Linked DNA regions of Homo sapiens: regions 2 and 3 are each linked to region 1. Evidence: promoter capture Hi-C in 16 types of primary human blood cells and fetal thymus (Javierre and others, 2016). All regions are on one chromosome and are shown on one strand. The core of a region is centred on a gene start or on the middle of the fragment in contact, and the rest is flanking DNA. Distances in the headings are between cores, read along the strand shown.

Region 1 (3,119 bases), core at 263-2,762:
GTGAAGACCCCCTAAATCGTCTGGCCTAGGTAATGGAGAAAGTGAATTTGTGTATTAATTCTTTATTTTCTGGTTCAGTCTAGCCAGAGAGGGTTTTGGAGCAAGAGGAACAAGGTTAAAAGAAAAGAACAAAGACCATTGTCTCAGGGAGACCTTAAGAAAGGTGATGCGGATGCTAAAGTAGAAGGTGTGAAAATAGTTAGAAAGAATGAAGAAGACCTAGTATTCAACAGCACAACAGGGTGACTATCGTCAATAATAATTTCATTGTACATGGTAACTAAGAGTATAATTAGACTGTTTGTAACACAAAGGATTAATGCTTGAGGTGATGGATACTCATTTACCCTGATGTGATTATCATGCATTCATTGTATGCCTGTATCAAAATATCTCATGTACATGTACTCCATAAATATATATACCTACTATGTATCCACAAAAGTTAACTGAAATTTTTTTTAAAAGATGGGGCTATATGGCTACATAGACATCAGTCTGGAGCCCTTTGAGGATCCCCAGTGCTGTGGCTGAGGCCACCCTCCTCCCTAGGGAACAGAAGGAGCAGAGTCCCAGAGAAGTGTGAGCGAGGGCCTGGGTGCCCTCCTGGCTCCGCCACCTGAGTTTAAGAAAGTAGGGATTTTGAGATCACCTTTGTGTGCCTATTGAAATCTCTTTCCTTCTTCGAAACTCAAATTCTACCTTCTTCAGAAAACCTCCCCTAAATAAGCCTACACTATTATAGGCAGTTTGTAGCTTTCTAATACTTTATTAAACTGCGTTATTTTATTGTCACCTTACTAGGCTGTAAATGTTGTTAGGGCAGAAATCATGTTTTGGTTTTTAAAAATTTCCACAATGCCTAGGGTGGTGTTGAGAATAAAATAGGCATTTGGTAAGTAATTGTGTGATGAAAAAGTTGAAAGGAAGAAAAAACCATCGGGCTTCCTGAAGTTTCTAGCCTTTCTAACTTAGACAGAGAATACACTAGATGGTAGGACTGCATCCCCACATTCTCAAATCAGAGGGTGGAGGTTCACCTGCACCTGGTGTATTTTTTTCTGAAAAAACAAAACAAACAAAAAAATGCTATCCTGAATGCAAATTCAGTCTCAAAGTGCTACAGAGGACAACCAGGAAAGCACAGTCCTTTCTGGATCCCTTTTGGGGACCAGGCTGTGTGTGTGTGTGTGTTGTGTGTGTGTGTGTGTGTGTAAGTGTGCATAGGTGGGAAAAGGTTGTGGTGTGATGGGAGGGGATAGGCAAGAGGGAGGAAAGAGACTCCATGCAGTGATTATGTGGAGGGGATTTGCTATGTCTCTTCCCCCCGCTTCTTTCTTTGTCCTCTTTCTCCTGGTCCCCTTCTTCTGCATTTGTCTGGGAGGATCCTGGAGTGTTCTTTTGATCGACTCAATCTTTCTCTGGCACTTGAGTTCTGATTGGCTGAAGGACTTAGAGGGGAAAAAAAACTTTAATTAAGTAGATAATCTCTTCTTTGGACGTTTGGCAGCTCCATTTCACCTCCCCTTAACTCTGTTTGGGATCGCTTACACACCAAGGAAGTTGGGCTTTGAGAATTCCATCCCACTGGCACTGAGGAGAATATTTCTCCGTCTTGCTTACCCATCTCCCAGTTTTTTGGAATTTTCTCTAGCTGTTACTCCAGAGGATTATGTTTCTTTCAAAGCCTTCTGTGTACATCTGTCTTTTCACCTGTGTCCTCCAACTCAGCCACAGCTGGTAAGTAACCTGGACTCTTACCTGGAGCTGGGAATAGGTAAGTGTATGTAATGTGTTGGGTAAAGCTCATTTCATTTCCAGAAATGTAGGAAGCCTTGATAGCTCTCCTAGGAAAAACTGTTCTATGGGGTAGGGCTCTTCCTAAATTTATGGCTGATTTTAGTGAATCTTTAGGACCCCTACCAATAAAGGACTAAATGATGGGAGCGGGGGTTCCTATTTTTATAAATTGCTATTCCACAAATATTCCCCCAAAGTGATTTGGGGGTAAATGGACAGCAGCCCTTTTCACGAAATCCTGATGTCAGCATTGTAGAGAGGAGGAAGGTAGTTCAAAGCAAGTTCTACCGTGTGTTGAATCTGATCTTGAGGTAAAGTCTGGAGACAAAATTCAATGGGATCTTACTTTGTACTTTCTGACTTTATTTTTTTTTTCAGGATATTCTAAGTAATTGCTCAAATTATCATTTCCTAGACATAAAAAATTTTATTTGAACCACTAAGCAGGCATTGGGTTAACAAACATGTTTGAAACCAGATATTTTAGAAATCTAAACGTCTCGAGAAATTTATTTAATTTGTTCAATTTACAAATATTTCTAAATTGTTCAGAAAATCAGATAACGTATATGAAAGTGCTTTGTAAATTATAAACACAAATGCTAAAGAATATCATCACCATTCTCATTTAGCTCTTGGAAACCACATAAACTATCTATACATGCAACTGTTCATTAGCAAATACACCAGTACACAATAACATACAGAATGCAGGTTGCTAGGGTGTTCGGAGTTTCTCTCCAGTTCAGATATGAGCTCAGTCTCTCTCTTCATCAGCTCTCATTTTGACCATCTATTTAACAAAGATATAAATCCAATTGCTACATAAACTGTTGAGGAAGCAGGAAAAGAAATTTCTTTGCTGAGATAAGCTTCCTTTGAGAATTGAAAATACATTTTTATCATAAATGAGTGTAGCCGTCTTTATAGGAGTGTTGATAGGAAGTATGCCAACTTCATAAAACTATTTGCAAGTTAATACAATAATTTGCAACATTTCTGATTATAAGCAGAACCACCAATTAGTCCATTTTTAATTGGCATTTTAATTAAATATTTCAATGTTAAAAAAAAGGTCTCTCTTCTCTCCCCCTCATGAGAACAAAAAGACAAAAGGGAGAGGAGACTATTTCAGAGCATTTCTACTGATGTTCATGGTATTCTTCAGCTGATTCAGTATCAGCAAAAGAGAAACACGAGATTCCCTTCCCTAGTCACCAGGGCGGTGTGAAGAATTGTTCTATAAAAAATACCTTTACTGTGTGTTCCCTTCCCTGCTGGAGGGGGTCATGTTCATTTCATTCCGATACTGACACAGC
Region 2 (3,119 bases), core at 329-2,828, 420 kb after region 1:
CAGCATGAGTTTTTATCCTGGTCACTCTCCTTTTCTGCCCTCCATTGATAAACAAAATCAAAGGGGACAGACCCTCAAGTCCCCTTAAGGAGACAAGGTTGGGCTCAGGCCCCAAACCCCAAGGCAGTGCCACCCCACCACTTCTGGCATGACAACCACTTCCATTACAACCACTATGTGGAAATGAGCACAGAAGCCCCCAGAGTACCTGGGCCTCCAAGATGGAAAAGTTTGCAAAGCTTGGCAAAAGAAAAGTGGGCCTGCAAGCCGGTCTATAAATTAGAGACTCATTAACAAGAGGCGGGAAGGGCTTTGGGGGCCTGCGCCTTTCGATTTCTTGTTGAGCTGGTTTATTGCTATTGTTTCTATTTCATACGTTTATTGCAAAACCAATAAAAATTATCTATTAAGAGCAGGAAACTCATCTTTTGACTTGTTGGTTGAGATTTCTACAGAATAACCTTTAACTGGCCCAACATGTCTGCAGGAGAGGAGAAGGCTCACGTAGTTACCTTGAGAGGCCAACCAAGAAGACAGTAGGAAGGCCCAGCCCTTGGGGTGGGGAAGGGGGTGGCCACAAAAACAAGAACACTGTATCCAGAGCCTGCCGAGGGCAAAGCCTTCCCACTGCCATCCTAACCAGTGGGAAGCCATACTGTGTTTTACCTATCCAATATTTTACATTTTTTAATTAATTGAAAACATGTAAAATTTGAGACTTTTCATCATACATGCTGGTATCTGGCTTCTCTTTTAAAATGGCAAGATCAGCCGGGCGTACTGGCTCACACCTGTAATCCCAGCACTTTGGGAGCCCAAGGCGGGTGGATCACGAGGTCAAGAGATTGAGACCATCCTGGCTAACATGGTGAAAACCCATCTCTACTAAAAATACAAAAATTAGCTGGGCATGGTGGCATGTGCCTATAGTTCCAGCTACTCAGGAGGCTGAGGCAGGAGAATCGCTTGAACCCGGGAGGCAGAGGTTGCAGTGAGCCAAGATCGTGCCACTGCACTCCAGCCTGTCGACAGAGTGAGACTCTGTCTCAAAAAAAAAAAAAAAAAAAAAAAAAAAAAAAAAAAAAAAAAGGCAAGATCATTCTGGCTTTCATTCGCACCTGGAAACAACTGTTTCTAGGAGAGAGACACTGTCTTACATTTTTTTTTCTTTTGAGACAAGATCTCGCTTGGTCACCTAGGCTGGAGTGTGGTGATGCCATCATGGCTCACTGCAGCCTCAAGATCCCTGGCTCAGGTGATTCTCCCACCTCAGCCTCCCGAGTAGCTAGGGTTATAGGCGCGTGCCATCATGTCTTGCTAACTTTTTTGTAGTTTTTGGTAGAGATGGAGTTTTGCCACATTGCCCAGGTTGGTCTCAAACTCCTGGGCTCAAGCAATCCACCTGCCTCAGGCTCCCAGTGTCGGGATTACAGGCAAGAACCACTGCACCTGGTCTGCAGCCCCTATTTAGAAGAGGACTAGGTTGGAAGGGGGAGAGAGTTAAACATTTATGAACTATTCTTGAAATAAAGTTCTGTAAGAATGCTTCTAAATCAGACTAATAAAATTTCTCTTCCAAGATCCTCAAAGGAAGGCCCAGGTCTAGTACCAGCTGGAAGGGAAGGGAGCTAACATTTCGTTGCATGCTGATGTGCCAGGCTCAGCACTGACTTTTTTTTTTTTTGAGACAGAGTCTCGCTCTATCACCTAGGCTGGAGTGCAGTGGCGCGATCTCGGCTCACTACAAGCTCCACCTCCAGGGTTCACGCTATTCTCCTGCTTCAGCCTCCCAAGTAGCTGGGACTACAGGGGCCCGCCACCACGCCCAGCTATTTTTTGTGTGTGTGTGTATTTTTAGTAGAGACAGGGTTTCACTGCGTTAGCCAGGATGGTCTCGCTTTCCTGACTTCATGATCCACCTGCCTCGGTCTCCCAAAGTGCTGGGATAATAGGCATGAGCCACCGCGCCCAGTCAGCACCGATCTTTTATGGGCATTATCCCTCTTTTACCAAAAGGGAAATTGAAGCTGGGAGATGTCAGTAATGCGCTCAGGGGCAAAGGATAATATAACCCCTAGCCTGAAAACACCAGCCCTAGAAGACACCAGTAACCATCTCGCCAGCTTTAAAGAAGAAATGGCAGGTACACAGTGTAATTCTCCCAGGCCTCCAGGTGCCCTGAGGGAAGATTCACAACCAATTGAGGGAAAATCCACCCAACTGTGACCCAAGTTAGAACTTGCCTCCAGAGTTACCAACACCCCTAAATCTAGTGAAAGGGAACCACAGGGTCTTTAATAATCACTCTGTCAGGTCACGGGATGGTGACTAATGGGCCTAGAGGAGGAGATGGTGAAAAACACTCTAGGAAATAAATTTGGGTGATTAAATTTCAAGGCAGTTCATGGAACAGCAATCTGAGGCCTAAACTAAGCCATCAAGTTACCAAGAGAATCAAGATTTCAATTTAACCGCTGCTGCCCAGGAACCAAGCCTGCGTCTGCAAAGTATTTGTGGGTTAGAAGTAGGTACCCTCCAGAACTTTCTGAGTAACTCTGGCACCTTCCTAACCTCAGCCATTCCTCCCAAAGGGCCAACTAGCAATAAGTCAAAGAATGCGTGTGTTTCTCCGGTTGTTTCATAATTCCAGGTCTTTAAGTAAAAAGAAAAATCATGGCTCACCGAGTAAGGGAGGTACGGGTTGTGGGAGGGCCTTCTATCAGGCGCAGGCCAGAGCCATACACAAATCTTTGAGAGACTCTCAGTTTACTAAACTAACAGGAGAGCCCAAATTCCTCCAATTCCCTGCTATTTCAATTGAATGCTATGTTCTCTGATTGGACCTTATCCCCAAACAGTCATGGTCTAATGTCTGGGGCATAATCCCCCCTCCAACTGAATCACACCCCAGGTGCTGTTAAGCTTTGCAGGTGAACACAACCCAGGCTCTAAGGTAAGAACCCTAGGTCTGATTCCCCATCAGATACTCTCCATGCTCACTGTTTATAGTCCCTGGGGCATCACTACTTTAACTTGTTTATGTCTTTTTGAGTAAAGTCAGTGTGGGGAGAGCTGGAGACGGTGGCAGGCCTCTGTAATGGAAGAACCCAGGCTGGAAG
Region 3 (3,119 bases), core at 367-2,866, 400 kb after region 1:
TTACAGGGTGAGGCCCTGGAGGGCAGGGCAAATGGGTGTCCTCCTGATCTTGGCTGGCACAGTGTCAGGCACATCAGATTTGCCCCATGATTGTTGAACAAGTGAATGGCCAAGCGGCCTGAGAGAGCTGAGAGTTTAGTCAAACCACAGCATTGGGCCAGGTGCGGTGGCTCATACCTACAATCCCAACAATTTGGGAGGCCGAGGTGGGCAGATCACCTGAGGTCAGGAGTTTGAGACCAGCCTGGCCTACACGGTGAAACCCCATCTCTACCAAAAATTCAAAAACTTAGCTGGGCATGGTGGTGGGCACCTGTAATCCCAGCTACTTGGGAGGTGGAGGCAGGAGAATCGCTTGAACCCAGGAGGTGGAGGTTGCAGTGAGCCGAGATGGCACCATTGCACTCCAGCCTGGGTGACAGAGCAAGACTCCATCTCAAAAACAAACAAACAAAAAAAACACCACAACATCCCATGGGAGTCAGAGTGTTGAGGGCACAATCTGCAGGAGGTAGAGAGCAGCCAGCAGGGTCAGCCCTGCCACAAGGCCCGGTAACATTCCTGAAGGATCCCACTGGATTGGGGAAGATGGTAATAGAACTTCCCACGTGGAGAGGGCTGGCATAGGTCCCCAGCCCCAGCCCAATCCTGGTCTCCACCTTCAGAGATCCTCAGAGGTGCAAGGAGAGAAAAGCAGTGGGAGGGAGAAGCAGAGATGTGGGAGAAAGGCAGAGACAGGACGAGTGACAGAGGGAAGGAGGCTCTTATGAAGACACAGGGAGACAGTGGCAGAGACTCCAGAAGGGCAGATGGGTGACAAGGCCCCCAGCACAGCCCAGGAGCCTCCATGCACACAAAGCCCACGCTGGGGTTGGGGGACAGGGTCCTGGGGATTGGGGAGAGGACAGCAGGTTCCCAACCCTCTGCAGGTGCCAGCCCCCATCCTGGGCCAGCTCCCCACCCTTTCTGGAGCCAGCGGGTGGCACCCTGCCGGGGGCAGATGAGACTCCGACATGAGTGATGGGTGCCGATTTAGGCCCAGATTTGCCACAATTGTGGGGGCTGGCGCAGTTCTGAGACCAGGAGGAGGGGTGGGCAGGGTGTAAGCAGGCTGGACTGGCGATGGGGAAGCAGGGAGATCTCTGTGGGGAAGAGCCAGACTTTTCTCTGAGTGCCCAGCAGAGGCCAGGTGAATGGCGATTGGGGACCACAGCCAGAGAACTAAGAGGGGGCACTCTGCACAGGGCTTGACTTGTTTGCAGAGAGTGCAGGGTGAGTCCGCTGATGGGCCTGGACACACACACACACACACACACACACACACACACACACACACACGCGTCATTCCCCAGTCCAGCATTCACACCCAGAAGAAACCTCTGTGAGGCACGTACTGAGCACACTGCTGGAATGCCTACTGCGCGCCCCGGTGCATCAGGACCACCCATTCACTCAGTCACACCGCAACAATCTCAGCCCAACAACACTGATTCACCTCATCCCAGTTGCTCAGAGTGAAAGTCAGGCAATTTGCACAGACAGAACTCATCACACAAGGCATCTCTTGGTCTCCCAGACGTCCTCGCACATACGCACAAGCAGGCAGGCATACACGCATGCACGTATGTGTGCACACACAAATTGTTAAGTTTGGCAGGAGTGATGGGGATAGCCCTGGGGGTCTGGGTCTTCGTTTTGAAGAGAGAAAAAGACAGTGTCAGGTCACTGGGCTCATGGAGGCAGATCTGGGCCACAGCCCTAGCAGAGTCCAGTGAGGTCAGCCATAGGGTTCAGGTCCCTTGGGGACAGTCCTGTCCATCCTGGATGATTCGGCCCCACCCACACTGTCTCCAGATGCCCTCCTCCACCCTGCCAGGGTCCAGTCCCCTTCAGTCCCTGCCGTCACCCCCTCCCTGGGCCCCCTCCTGTCAGCTCATTCTCTTTCCATCTGCGTCGCTTCTTCTCCCCCGACTGACCCCCCCCATCCCCGCCCCCCAGCCTCGGTGATAAAAGAGCCAGATTGGAGCGGGTGCCACGCAGCTTCATTCCCCACCATATGGGCCCAAAAGCCAAATCGTCAGCTAAGCGATTAAATCAAGTATGTCGAACAAAATGTTATGAACTGACATTATGGGTATATAATTTTATGCCATTTGTTGCCATCTGTTTATCTAAACAGCCCCCGTTCCACACAGACATACAGACTCACACCTTCCCTCCTACCCTCCACCCGTCAGGAGCCCCCACCCCCAACCAGGGCCAGAGGTCAGGGACAAGAAGACGTGTGCCAGGTAGTTGAAGAACCAGGGGCTCCAGGGTTCTTGGGAACTGCAAGGAACTAGAGGGCCAGTAGTCCCAGAGAGCTGAGGAATAGGAGAGTGGGGGTCAAAACTGCTCATTGGCCCGAAAGGGGGCAAGACCCTTGGGGAACAGGAAGTTAGGGAACCAGGAGTCCCAGGCATAAAGACTGTAGCTAGGGCCATAGCACAGGGCCATGGACCAGAGCCAGGAGAGCCTCACTGGCAAGCCTCCAGCCTGGCACGTGGCACGTGGCACGTGTGTGTAAGTGTGTGTGCAGGGCAGGCACAAGAGCTGCAGCTGTGCACATCACAGAAAGCTGTAGGAGCTTTCTCTCCCTCTGCCCCTGTTTGTCCTGGGGGCCCAAGGCTCTCAGAGCCTGATAGGAGGGCTGGCTCCTCTCAGGACCACAGGCACAGGTCAGGGGGCCAGAGGCTTAGGCCATTGTCACTCATGTCTCCTCCTCAAAGTATGGTCACAGGGCAGGTGCCCCATCAAGCCCAGAGGATAGGGAGCCCCCGTCCCTATACCCCTCCAACCCCAAACAGCTTTGGAGTCTGAAATAGCCCCCTTAACACCAGGCCTGGGCCTCTGTGAGCTTAAGTGTGAGCCCCCAGCCACAGATCCGCGGCCATCCCACCCTCTTGGGCCTCTCTGCTGCCTGGCCCTGACCTGTGTCTGTCTCCACGCCTGTGGTCTCTCTGTCTGACCTCCCCTGTCTACCCCCTCTTCCATGGTGAGGGTCTCTGTGTGTCTCTCTCACCTCACTCTCTTTCTGCCTGTCTCTGGCTCTGTTTTGACCTCTGACTCTCCTGGAGGTA

The links. Contacts are between HindIII fragments. The CHiCAGO score rates a contact against its expected background, and 5 or more counts as called.
Region 2: a fragment that was not itself captured here is called in contact with the fragment with the promoter of WNT8B in region 1 in 1 of 17 cell types (M0 macrophages); the score reaches 5.1 in M0 macrophages.
Region 3: a fragment that was not itself captured here is called in contact with the fragment with the promoter of WNT8B in region 1 in 1 of 17 cell types (endothelial precursors); the score reaches 6.7 in endothelial precursors.

The regions. Positions count from the first base shown.
Region 1 is chr10:100,461,497-100,464,615 of GRCh38, forward strand. WNT8B (Wnt family member 8B) reads left to right here and starts at 1,513. Exons shown (of 6, transcript NM_003393.4): 1 at 1,513-1,740. The coding sequence starts at 1,673. The HindIII fragment of the contact is 5,936 bases long and covers 1-2,670 here.
Region 2 is chr10:100,883,968-100,887,086 of GRCh38, forward strand. No RefSeq gene overlaps it. Among named protein-coding and RNA genes, the nearest start is that of SLF2, 27 kb to the right of the region's middle. The HindIII fragment of the contact is 2,683 bases long and covers 238-2,920 here.
Region 3 is chr10:100,862,637-100,865,755 of GRCh38, forward strand. No RefSeq gene overlaps it. Among named protein-coding and RNA genes, the nearest start is that of SLF2, 49 kb to the right of the region's middle. The HindIII fragment of the contact is 3,474 bases long and covers 1-3,119 here.